3 separate regions of the Homo sapiens genome follow, and regions 1 and 2 are each linked to region 3. The links are contacts of gene promoters, found by promoter capture Hi-C in blood cells and fetal thymus (Javierre and others, 2016). All regions are on one chromosome and are shown on one strand. Each heading gives the region's core, a stretch centred on a gene start or on the middle of the fragment in contact. The rest is flanking DNA. Distances are from core to core; before and after follow the strand shown.

Region 1 (3,608 bases), core at 525-3,024, 520 kb before region 3:
CCTTACTGCTCTATGTATTTTGGGGAAATGATGGCAGAGGACATCTAGCACACTGCAGATATTGGGAACTTCTTGGTTGAAGAAGCAGCCTTGTTAGAAGAGAGACCTTTTAGAATTTAGCCTCAGGCATCAGCCTGCTTTTCCTTTGAACTAACACAGACCTGCTCAGCCAGCTTCTTGCTAAACTACCAGGAAGGCTGCTGGGATTTATCTGTCCTCTAGCACTGAGTAGGTAATTGGGAACTCAGTAAGTGTTGAATGAATGGAACTATTATTGTTAGGAGGAAATTCATATTTATTTCATTTAAATTTGCTCTCCTCTTGCAATCTGGCTATGGGAAGGTCCCTTAGGAATGGATGGGCTAGGCAGGGCCAGGGGGATTTTCTCTGCCTGCCCATTTCATAGAGAAGGGAGGGGGCAGATTAGCTACCATGAGGTTTTTTGTTTGTTTGTTTGTTTATTTGTTTTCTGAACCTGGATCCTAAGAATAAAAACCAAGAGAGCTTCTCTGTCCTGCTGAGTAGAAGAGGTAGCCACTGGAGAGACCTTGGTACAGAGGAACCAGAGAAGGCATAGCTATATGCCCCAAATCACAGTTTGGGCAGAGTAGCCCAAGGAGAGTACACAGATTGGGCAGAGTAGCCCATCGTACCCCACTGTGCGAAGGAGAACCTAGAGACCATTCTTGGGAGGACTCTGGGAAGGTATGACGGTCATGTTGTTTCAGCCCAAACCTCAGGGCAGCCACGTGGCAGCTGTTAAGTGCTCTTTTGGAGGTAAATGTGTGAAACCAGGACTGTTCCAAGGGCAAAGAAAGTCCAGGATTCATCATTAAGATGGGTTTCCTGTGGTCCCTGAAGGCCTCAGCATCACAGGAGATTCCAGATCTGCTGCTCTGGGGATCCACATGAGGCGGGATGATGTGCCTGCTGAAATTAAAGGGACAGGGTGGTGGGAAAAGTCTCCATCCCAGGATGGCAGGCTTCCACAGCCACAGCAACTCATGACAGGCCTCACTGGGGGATGAGCAGAGCTGCGTCCTTTGGAGCCAGAGACATCAGGTCTCAGGTAGTGTGAAGGATCCTAGCCATGGAGTGGCCAGCCAGTAAACTGTGTTGGGCAGCAGAGGAGTAAGAAGCTGCATGTCCTTCCATGGGCAAGAAGAGGCACTGCAAGAGAAGGCAGAAAATGTGTTTCTGGGCATTGGGCAAGCCTTTTTTTATCTCTCCCTCAAATGGAACAGAATCCCAGGGTAGGATGGATCTGTGACCTCATGGTAACAGGTGGACCTAATAACTTGAAATACCAAGGATAAGGAAAGAGCCTGTTCTACTGAAGGTTCATATGGCCCAGTGGTCCCCAAGCATTTTGGCGCCCAGGGCCCAGTTTCATGGAAGACAATTTTTCCATGGACCAATGTGGGGGGAGGGGTGATTTCAGGATGATTCAAGCACGTTATATTTATTGTGCACTTTATTTCCATTATTATTACATTGCAATATATAATGAAATAATTATACAACTTACCATAATGTAGAATCAGTTGGAGCCCTGAGCTTGTTTTCCTACAACTAGATGGTCACCTCTGGGGCTGATGGGAGACAGTGACAGATCATCAAGCATTAGATTCTCATAAGGAGTTCGCAACCTAGAACCCTCACACGTACAGTTTGCAATAGGGTTTGCGGTCCTATGAGAATGTAATGCTGCTGCTAGTCTGACAGGAGGCAGAGCTCAGGCGGTAATGTGAGTGATGGAGAGTGGCTACAAACACAGATGAAGCCTCTGTCACTCACCTGCCACTCACCTTCTGCTGTGTGGCACAGTTCCTAACAGGCCACGGACCAGTACTGGTCCGTGACCTGGGGCTTGGGGACCCCAGATATGGCCCATCTCATACTATTACTATTACTAGTGCTACTACTATTACTGGCTAACGAGGCACTTTGCTAAAAGCTGTACAAGCATTTTTCCACTTAATCCTAGAAATAACCTTATGAAGTAAGTACCGCAATTTAGGAATCTGAAGCTGAGCAAGGCTGCAAAATTGTTCAAAATAAAATAGCTTGGAGTGGTCTAGCCTGGAACAGAACACAGTTACATTGGACTCCAGAGTCCACAAGCCTCAGCATTACTCTGTGTGCGTCTCAAATGTCTTAAGTAATTGATGCGGCCAAGATAGCTTCCCTCTGTGAGTGCCATGTGGCAGGAATTGTGTTTATTCTCTTCACCACTGTGGTCCCAATGCCGAGTACGGTGCTTTGTTCCCAATAGGTATTAGATATGTATTTGTGGAATAAAAACAGGGATGTGTGTGTAGCAGAAAACCATCAGTTTATACTGAGCTTCTTTCCTGAAGACAGTTATGAATCATATTCCCATACCAGGTCAAGGGATGGAAAACGTGATCATCAGGCTGTTTGTGCTTTTAACATTTCAGATTCAAAACAAGCATTGTTTTATGATGAAAATGAATTATCCTGACATTCTATCACATCTTATCAGACTCTTTTTTATTCAAAATGCTGTTGGTACTCTTACTTAATAAACTGGAGCAAGCAATAAATTCCACTGGTCTACAGAGACTGTGGTTGGGTTCCCAGTACCAAAATGATTTTGATTATTGAGTTGGCATATACCTCTAAACATTCCTAAATCAGTGGTTGGCAGCAGCAATATTCTGAAAGAAAGAGAAAAAGAAAAAACAGCGCGTGCGCATGCATACACATACACACACGCGCACACACACACGTGATAGCTTCAAAGCCTCTTACACATTAATGGATTCCTTATGGATTACATGGCTGTAATTGTGAAAGAGCACAAAGAACTAAAGGGAACCTTATTTCTTTAAACAAAAACATTTTTTAAAAGATGTTCCTTTTGAAAAGTCATTTGTTTTTTCTGAAGAGAGTAGGAAAAAAAAAGCTCCAACATAATGGAACTCTTAAAAATGTGTCAGGAACACAATAGAAAACCAGAATAAATGTAGGCAAGGCAACCACAGGAAGCCAGTCGCAGACTGAGTTCATTTGTACTCTAACAGCAGACATGGATGAAGAAAACAACCAGCAGGAGAGAGAGTAGTGAGAAGTGCCAGCTCATAGTAAGGGGGCCAGTAGGAAGGGAGACGGTGTGTGGTAGGGGGAGGGACATTCTAGAATTCAAAACAACAGACTATTCATATCATATTCTTAAAATCGGTGTAATGAAACCTGTTTATATTATCCTCAAATTAATTGTTCAATGTTCGAATGTCAGTGTCCCAGCCAATGACCCACCAACAATTTCCTTGGTCATTGCATTTTCTTTCCTTGGTCTTTCGAAAAAATAACGAATGAGTTTCTCTATTTATAAAGTTTCTCTGAAATGTCTTCTTATGTCATGGAGGCTGGGAGTTCATCTTGGGACACTGGATGTGATGGGGGGCCCTTGGCTGGGATCAGGAGGTTTTTGTGATTGTGAGGCAACTTCTGATCCCATTAGCTGACGGTTGACTGACATTTTGGAACAAGATTTTGCAAGATACGGGAAAGGAAAAAAAGGAGCATGGGAAGGAGGCACTTAAAAGATTGAGAAGGCAGGAATAAGCTGAGTGCTCCCAGAT
Region 2 (3,184 bases), core at 679-3,178, 600 kb before region 3:
TTGCCTCTTTGTTTCTCTCTCCATTTGCTGCCTCACACTTATTTAAGTGCTTTCATAGTCCCAGGGAAGCAAGCTCTGTGTATGCATTTCCTCCAGTTGTTTTCTGGGCCTGGAATGCTAATCTTATTTTTCTTTGCCTGGTTAGTAATTACTTCCTTTTGAAAACTCTGATGTCATCTGTCAGAAAACCTCCGTGGTCCTTCCTCTGAGCCCAGGCCCCTGGCCCTCAGCTCTGGGCATGTCTCTACTTTTTAAAATCCTCTCCTTTCCATTTAATAAACCACATAACATAATTTTGTTTTTATTTATTTATATTTTTGAGACAGAGTCTCGTTCTCTCACCCAGGCTGAAATGCAGTGGTGTGATCTCAGCTCACTGAGAAAACCTCCATTTCCCAGGTTCAAGCGATTCTCCTGCCTCAGCCTCCTGAGTAGCTGGGATTACAGGCGTGAGCCATGATGCCTGACTAATTTTTTGTATTTTTAGTAGAGATGGGGTTTCACCATGTTGGCCAGGCTGGTCTCGAACTCCTGACCTCAGGTGATCCACCCACCTTGGCCTCCCAAAGTGCTAGGATTACAGGCATGAGCCACCACGCCTGGCCTAATTTTGTTATTTTGATCTATGAGTGTCCTCGTCCTGAGGGTACTATTACTATTTCATCTTTGTAGCCTAGCATGGCGCCCATGAAATGTGTTTGTGGCTGAAAGGAACCTATCTTTGGTCACCAATGACCCAACAATTTTGGCCACATATGTTGGGCTCAGACTCCCTAAACTATCAAAATCATGTGCTTATATTATAAGTGCCTCCAGAACACAAATCCCTTTCACAGGGCTTGAAATGTATCAAGTCACTATTAATCATCTTAGGCCAAGGCTCCGAGTCTGGGCTACTCCAGAACCTGGAGGGGAGTTTTTTTTGTTTTTTTTTTGTTTGTTTGTTTTTTGAGACAAGGTCTTGCTCTGTCACCCAGGCCGAGTGAAGTGGTGTGATAAAGGCTCACTGCAGCCTCGACCCCCAAGGCTCAAGTGATCATCCCAACTCAGTCTCCCGAGTAACTGGAACCGGCTTTTTTTCTTTTTCATTTTTTTTTTTTTTTTTTGTAGAAGAGGGGTTTCGCTATGTTACCCAGGCTGATCTCTAGTTCTTGGGTTCAAGCGATCCTCCCAACTCGGCCTCCCAAAGTGGTGGCATTCCAGGGGTGATGGCTTTTGGATGCCTCCCAAAGTGATGGCTATTCACGGCGCCCGGCCTGGGAAATCTTATTTCCAGGAAATATTCTCCAGTTGCGCTCTCCTGGAAAGCAGCACAATGGGCCTCCCGGCTCCGTGGGCGCGCAGTCCCACCCGCCTGCCCCGCACCCCACCCGCGTACTCTCCACCCCACCCGTTCCCACCCTGTCTGGGTTTTCGGGTGTTCACCATTGAGGTGGGAGCCACATCTGCGCCCCGTGACCTGGCGAACCTCATTGAACACTTCTGCCCGACCCCCGCAGCAGCAGCGCGACCGGATGGCATGGGTGTCACCACGCGGTGGCCACTCTCACTGCTGCGAAGCGCCGGCGGCGGGACCTCGGAGGGGGCGCCCTCGGGGTGCGAGGCCCGGCACTCCGGAAATCCCCCGGGAGGGAGGGGTTGGGAGAAATAAATCCTTTTCTCCAGAGTTGCGCAAGAGCCAGCGCGGTAGGGCCAGAGTGGGAAGGCCAGAGCGGGCGTCCCCGCCAGTGACCCCACGCCGCCCGTCCGCGCCCAACCCGGCCTCCGCCGAGTGTCCAAACCAAAAGCGAAAGGAACCCGACCCCGCGTCCCCTCCGGCGGCTCCGTAGTCGCGTCCGCTTGGAGCTCGCCGGGCGCCTCCGACCCTGCCGGGCCGCTTTGTGACTTCACTCGTTTCGCAACAAGCCCGGGCAGCCCGCGCCCCACCCACTCTGGCCCGGCAGCCTCGCCGCCCGCAGCCTCGCTCCGCTCCTCGCGCTTCCCCTCCCTCCGGGGCTGGGCCTGCCCCGGCCGTCGCGGAGCCTCCCCTCCCACCGTCCGTGAGTGTACGCGCCCGGCCGCCGCCTCCAGGCAGCCCGGAGCAACCCGGCGCCCGGCCCCGCTGGGCGCAGCACTCCGTCGGCGGCGGCGGCGGCGCGATGCTGTGCTTCCTGAGGGGAATGGCTTTCGTCCCCTTCCTCTTGGTGACCTGGTCGTCAGCCGCCTTCATTATCTCCTACGTGGTCGCCGTGCTCTCCGGGCACGTCAACCCCTTCCTCCCGTATATCAGGTGAGTGGCAGGGTGGGCGTCAGGGCCCCAGGAGCAGGCACAGGGACCACAGGGAGCGCTGCCGACGGGGAGGGAAGGCGTCCGGACCCAGCTTGGGGCGTCGTGTGGTCAGGCAGAGGTGGGAGCAGGAGGAGAGGTGCTCCCGATAGCCTGGGATGTTTAGGGAGGCAGCGGGTGCGGCGCTGAGCACTTCTGCCTGTACCCGGAGCATGGAACAGGGTGGCAGCAAGGAGAGGTTCAGGATAGATGGTAGAGCTTTCATTCTGGGTATGGGACAGAATCTCAGCAGGACGTTCTTAGGCGATATTGAAACAAGATGGGTTCTGATAGATGACATATATTATACAAGAGGTAGATCCAGGTATATGCTAAACAGCCACTATTTTCACTTCTGCATCCCAACATCCCTTGAAGTGGATGTTTGGGCTTATTATTCCCGCAAGCGAGCGGTGGTGTAAAGTTGATGAAATATCATCAACGTGACACTGATGTCACACTAGTTAATGGTAGGAGCAGAATTCACACCCGGCCATGCAGAAAGCAACACTGTGCTGCCCCCAGGTCTCTGGGAGTCTGGCTTAAATTCTCTGGAGCTGCACCAGACACCTCTGGGCACTGTGACCCCAAAGTCCTCAACTTGTCAACAACTTGTGACATCTTTTGTGTTATTTTACCCATTCACTTTTCCTGTGCTTTGGCCTCTACCTTCCTGAGGGGCACTTCAGTGCCAGGGACAGTGGTCTGATCCTCCTATGTGGGTTCCAGCTCAGTGCCTTTCTCATAGTGGCAGGATTCTTTAAACGTTAGAACCATCCATCCTTATCTAAGTAGTGTGACCCCTCTGGACAGGCATTGGTTGGTGAACGGATGATAAGGTTGGTGACACCCAAGGTTTGTTACTGCTATGATAGAAAA
Region 3 (3,609 bases), core at 201-2,700:
GACAAAAACTCCAGCTGCTAGATCACATAGTATGTATGCACAGTGACGTCATTTCTTTGAAAGCAAGGTGGCCTGCATGTGTTGGCATCTCAGGAACAGCAGAATCAGGTGCCTGACAAGGGTGTATCTTTAACTCCTGGAGCCACTTACTTGACTAGGGAAAGTCGTAGTGGTGAAGTGTTTGAAAGCAGCAACTGAATGCTGCACTAAGTGGCAGAGACGTCTTATGAATTGAGCCCTCAGGCAATTGAATCGGTGGAGCCAGTGACAGCAGCTTAAAAGCGCTTGCAAATTGAAAAAAAAACACAAGTCTTGAAGGATATAATTTTGCTGAGAATGGAAACTAGAACTACGGCCAGCAATCGGAAACGAGAAGTCGGTGCACTGACAGCAGCAGCCAGATTTACCTAAAGGGACTTCACGACACTGAATATAAAATCAGAGTTTTATAACACAGAACCCCAAGTCCAAACTTTGCCCATGAAAGTCCTCTTCTAAACAGAAAAGTTGGGCAAGCAGCTCTTAGAAAGTTTCTGCTTTCCATATACAGTATGTATTTGTTTAAATTATACAAATATGCAAGGTCAGCAAGAGTTGTCAAGGAGTTCTTTTTTGGAAGAACAAATTACACTTTACTCTAACTTTAACACTCTCTCTGGGCATAAGTGCAGAGTTCCGGGACCTTAGCTCCAAAGATCATATTTAAAAGCTTTAATATCATCTAAAATACAACCCTTCATATATAGCATGCCTTGTAAATAAAGTCCTGATGAGTTACACACACAGAGACACATACACACAGAGACACATACACACATGCAAAAGAACATGGTCTTAAAAATAAAACATCTGCACCTGCAAAAGAAAAAAAAAATCCCCAAGTTCATATCCATGCTCTATAGCCCTTAGCCATAGAGAGGATTTAAAGGAATCTTCTGTAATGACACCACGGAAGCCCTGCAGAAGTGGAGGATTTAGCATAAGTACCTTGCAATAGTTTCTACTCATACAGATATCTGTGCAAATGCATCCATCTCCCCGAGCTATTTTTCAGATTCCACAGAATTGCATATTCAGCAATTTATAAATAACTCTCGGTTCCGAAACAATGAAAATTTTAAAGTGAAGAACAGTTCTAGGCAGAAGCAAACAGTACACAATTTAAATAGAATTCCCCAATGACTTCAAAGAGTAAGAAATATTTACCTTCAAGAAATCACAAAAGCAGCACTTAAATAATTGGGTTGGAAGACTGCTGATTTTTCCCATTGCTTCTGAAGTACAAAGTCTGAAAATGAATTGGTTAGCAGGAATAATGAAGCAAAAAGAAATCCAGAGAGATGGGAGATGTTGAGAGCAATGTCACATTTCAATTTTGAGGACTTTATTCCATTGCGCAGGCTCTATCTGCTCTGAATTTAGCAGTGACAGTGAGATTTAGCAAACAGAAGAGGGATTTAGAGAAAATCCTCACATTTATCTACAAAACACAGACACTGTAGACAGGAAACAGCTGGGGGAACATTTGCCTTCTCTCTCTCTCCCTCTTCTGGCAAAGTTATTGAGTAAGGACTTTTTTGGGCATGGTGACAAATAACATCATACCTTTGCATTTTAAAACTAGAGCACAGAAGCATTTTTTTCCCTTAAAAGAATGTGTGTTAGTGACAGGGTTCGCAGACATTAAAATACTTATGCTGCCATAGAAAATAAGGATCTGTTTTCTGATTAACTTTCTGCTGGGCATGAAGACACAAACGTCTGCTAATACACCTTACCAGTATTAAAGGAATATGGGGGATGGGAGAGCAATTTTAGATTCTAGAGCAAATGCATTATTTAAAACAAAAAAAGAAAGAAAGGACGATAAGACCCTCTCCAGCAAACTCTACAATTTTAACCCTGAAGTGACTGGGGTAAAGTAGATTGGAAGACAGCACTCGGGTGACCCCTTGTCCCAGTTGCCAAGTGAGAGGTGTGATCTCATTTCCTAGAACCTATGGAGGGGCAGGCAGCATTGGATTGGTCCCTTTAGGGCACTGTCTCATACTTTTTCTCCTGCGATGAGGCAAAGACTATGCCGAGCTGTAAAACCCAACTGAAATAGAACATTTTTCTTTATTCTTCTACTAGGCTGCCTGTCACTGTCCCCTCCCCACCCCACCACTCTGGGAGAAGGGTACCTGGGGGGCAAACAATTTTCCTGTTGTTTGAATTTTCCATATAACTCAAACCTGTGTGTGTGTGTGTGTGTGTGTGTGTGTGTGTGTGTGTGTATGACAGAGGGAGTCTGTGTGCCAGAGTGTGTTTTCTTTCTCTGATTTTTGTGTATTCTAAATAACACCAGCTGGCTAGCAATACCCTCTCGAGGGTTATGATGTCATTCAAATCCCTCAACTGGGTGACTGGCCGGCAACATGGTCCAAGCCAGCTGTTTTGCTATTTATAATGTACACTTGCCTTTGCCATTGAGAATTCAGTTCTGATCTTTTGTCGATACAGTTTGTACCTATTTCCCTTTGGTTTTGTGAAGCAGTAGATAAGAAAGTGAATTATAAAATAAGGTTGCAAAAGCCCAGAGCAGACATACCTCTTTCCCTAGAGAGCTCTCCAGGCCTGGTTTCCCAGGAGTGGTGGAAATAACCTGGACCTTGAATTTTTTCTTTTTTTTTTTTTCCACATGACTCTCAGGGGACTGACACATCAACTGAAAACACAGTTCTGCTTGAAATCCTACTCTGGCTCTTTGTGTTATCCTGGGGCCAGAAATTTGTTTGTAGAAGTGGGTGCCCTAACAAAAAACAAACAAACCTGCTTTGTTTGGAAGGGGGTTGGGTTTGTTTGAGTCTTCTGTGTGGTTAATACATTGTAGCAATGTTTACCTTTCAGAAATCAAAGTTAGAAATCTGGAATTATGTTGTGTCAATGGTGCACTATGTTCAGCAACATTTTGTGAGCTCTACTATGTGCCCAACTACAACATCCCTAGGAAAACAAAGAGGAATAAGATATGGTCAAGTCCCTTCAGGGGCTTTCAGCTGAATGTCAGAGACAAAGAGGAAAACTTCACAGTCATATGATGGGCATGTGCTCTTTTAAAAACATGAACAGTGCACAATGAGAGGGAGTGACACATTCTCTGGGAAGACAGGGGAGTAAAATCTTTTGGAAAATCCAAAATGAGGGAGGCAGATTGTGTCATGAGAGGCTTTGGGGTACCATGTTGGGAAATTTCAGTGGGTGGGATTTGACCCAAAGAGCACACTAAGAGGTATCATCAAGAGGTGGCCTAGTAGGTGGCCCTGGATTATTCTTAATGCAGGGATTATCCACATGTGCAGATGTGTGAGTAATCCCTGCATTTAATAATAATCCGTGGCTTCCTTTAATAAGCTCTCTTTGTACACTTGATTTGTGACAAATCTTTTTCTTTTCTGCAGTTTTTGTGGATCACACCCTTTCTGAAAAATGTCTATTCTCTTACAGACTTTGAGGATGTAGATTGTATAAAACAATAGAGCTGATCTCACCTGTCTTCCAGATGAGAAAAAACCTCTTTAACCAAGTTTGGAGAGTCAGATACTGGCTGGAGTCTTGGTGCTAAGTTCT

The links. Contacts are between HindIII fragments. The CHiCAGO score rates a contact against its expected background, and 5 or more counts as called.
Region 1: a contact is called between a fragment that was not itself captured here and the fragment with the promoter of IGF1 in region 3, in 8 of 17 cell types (naive CD4 T cells, fetal thymus, total CD4 T cells and 5 more). The highest score is 14.4, in naive CD4 T cells.
Region 2: a contact is called between the fragment with the promoter of DRAM1 here and the fragment with the promoter of IGF1 in region 3, in 2 of 17 cell types (naive CD8 T cells and total B cells). The highest score is 6.7, in naive CD8 T cells.

The regions. Positions count from the first base shown.
Region 1 is chr12:101,954,721-101,958,328 of GRCh38, forward strand. DRAM1-AS1 (DRAM1 antisense RNA 1) reads right to left here. Exons shown (of 3, transcript XR_001749284.2): 3 at 716-1,170. Among named protein-coding and RNA genes, the nearest start is that of DRAM1-AS1, 7.7 kb to the right of the region's middle. The HindIII fragment of the contact is 7,048 bases long and covers 1-3,608 here.
Region 2 is chr12:101,875,652-101,878,835 of GRCh38, forward strand. It overlaps DRAM1 (DNA damage regulated autophagy modulator 1), which reads left to right and starts at 1,929. Exons shown (of 7, transcript NM_018370.3): 1 at 1,929-2,269. The coding sequence starts at 2,139. RefSeq lists enhancers at 1,333-2,115, 1,906-1,955, 2,116-2,897, 2,536-2,625, 2,766-2,815 and silencers at 1,566-1,725, 1,976-2,315. The HindIII fragment of the contact is 18,310 bases long and covers 1-3,184 here.
Region 3 is chr12:102,479,113-102,482,721 of GRCh38, forward strand. It overlaps IGF1 (insulin like growth factor 1), which reads right to left and starts at 1,451. Exons shown (of 4, transcript NM_000618.5): 1 at 1,207-1,451. The coding sequence starts at 1,269. LINC02456 (long intergenic non-protein coding RNA 2456) reads left to right here. Exons shown (of 13, transcript XR_007063427.1): 11 at 1-3,609. RefSeq lists enhancers at 1-166, 257-306. The HindIII fragment of the contact is 6,669 bases long and covers 708-3,609 here.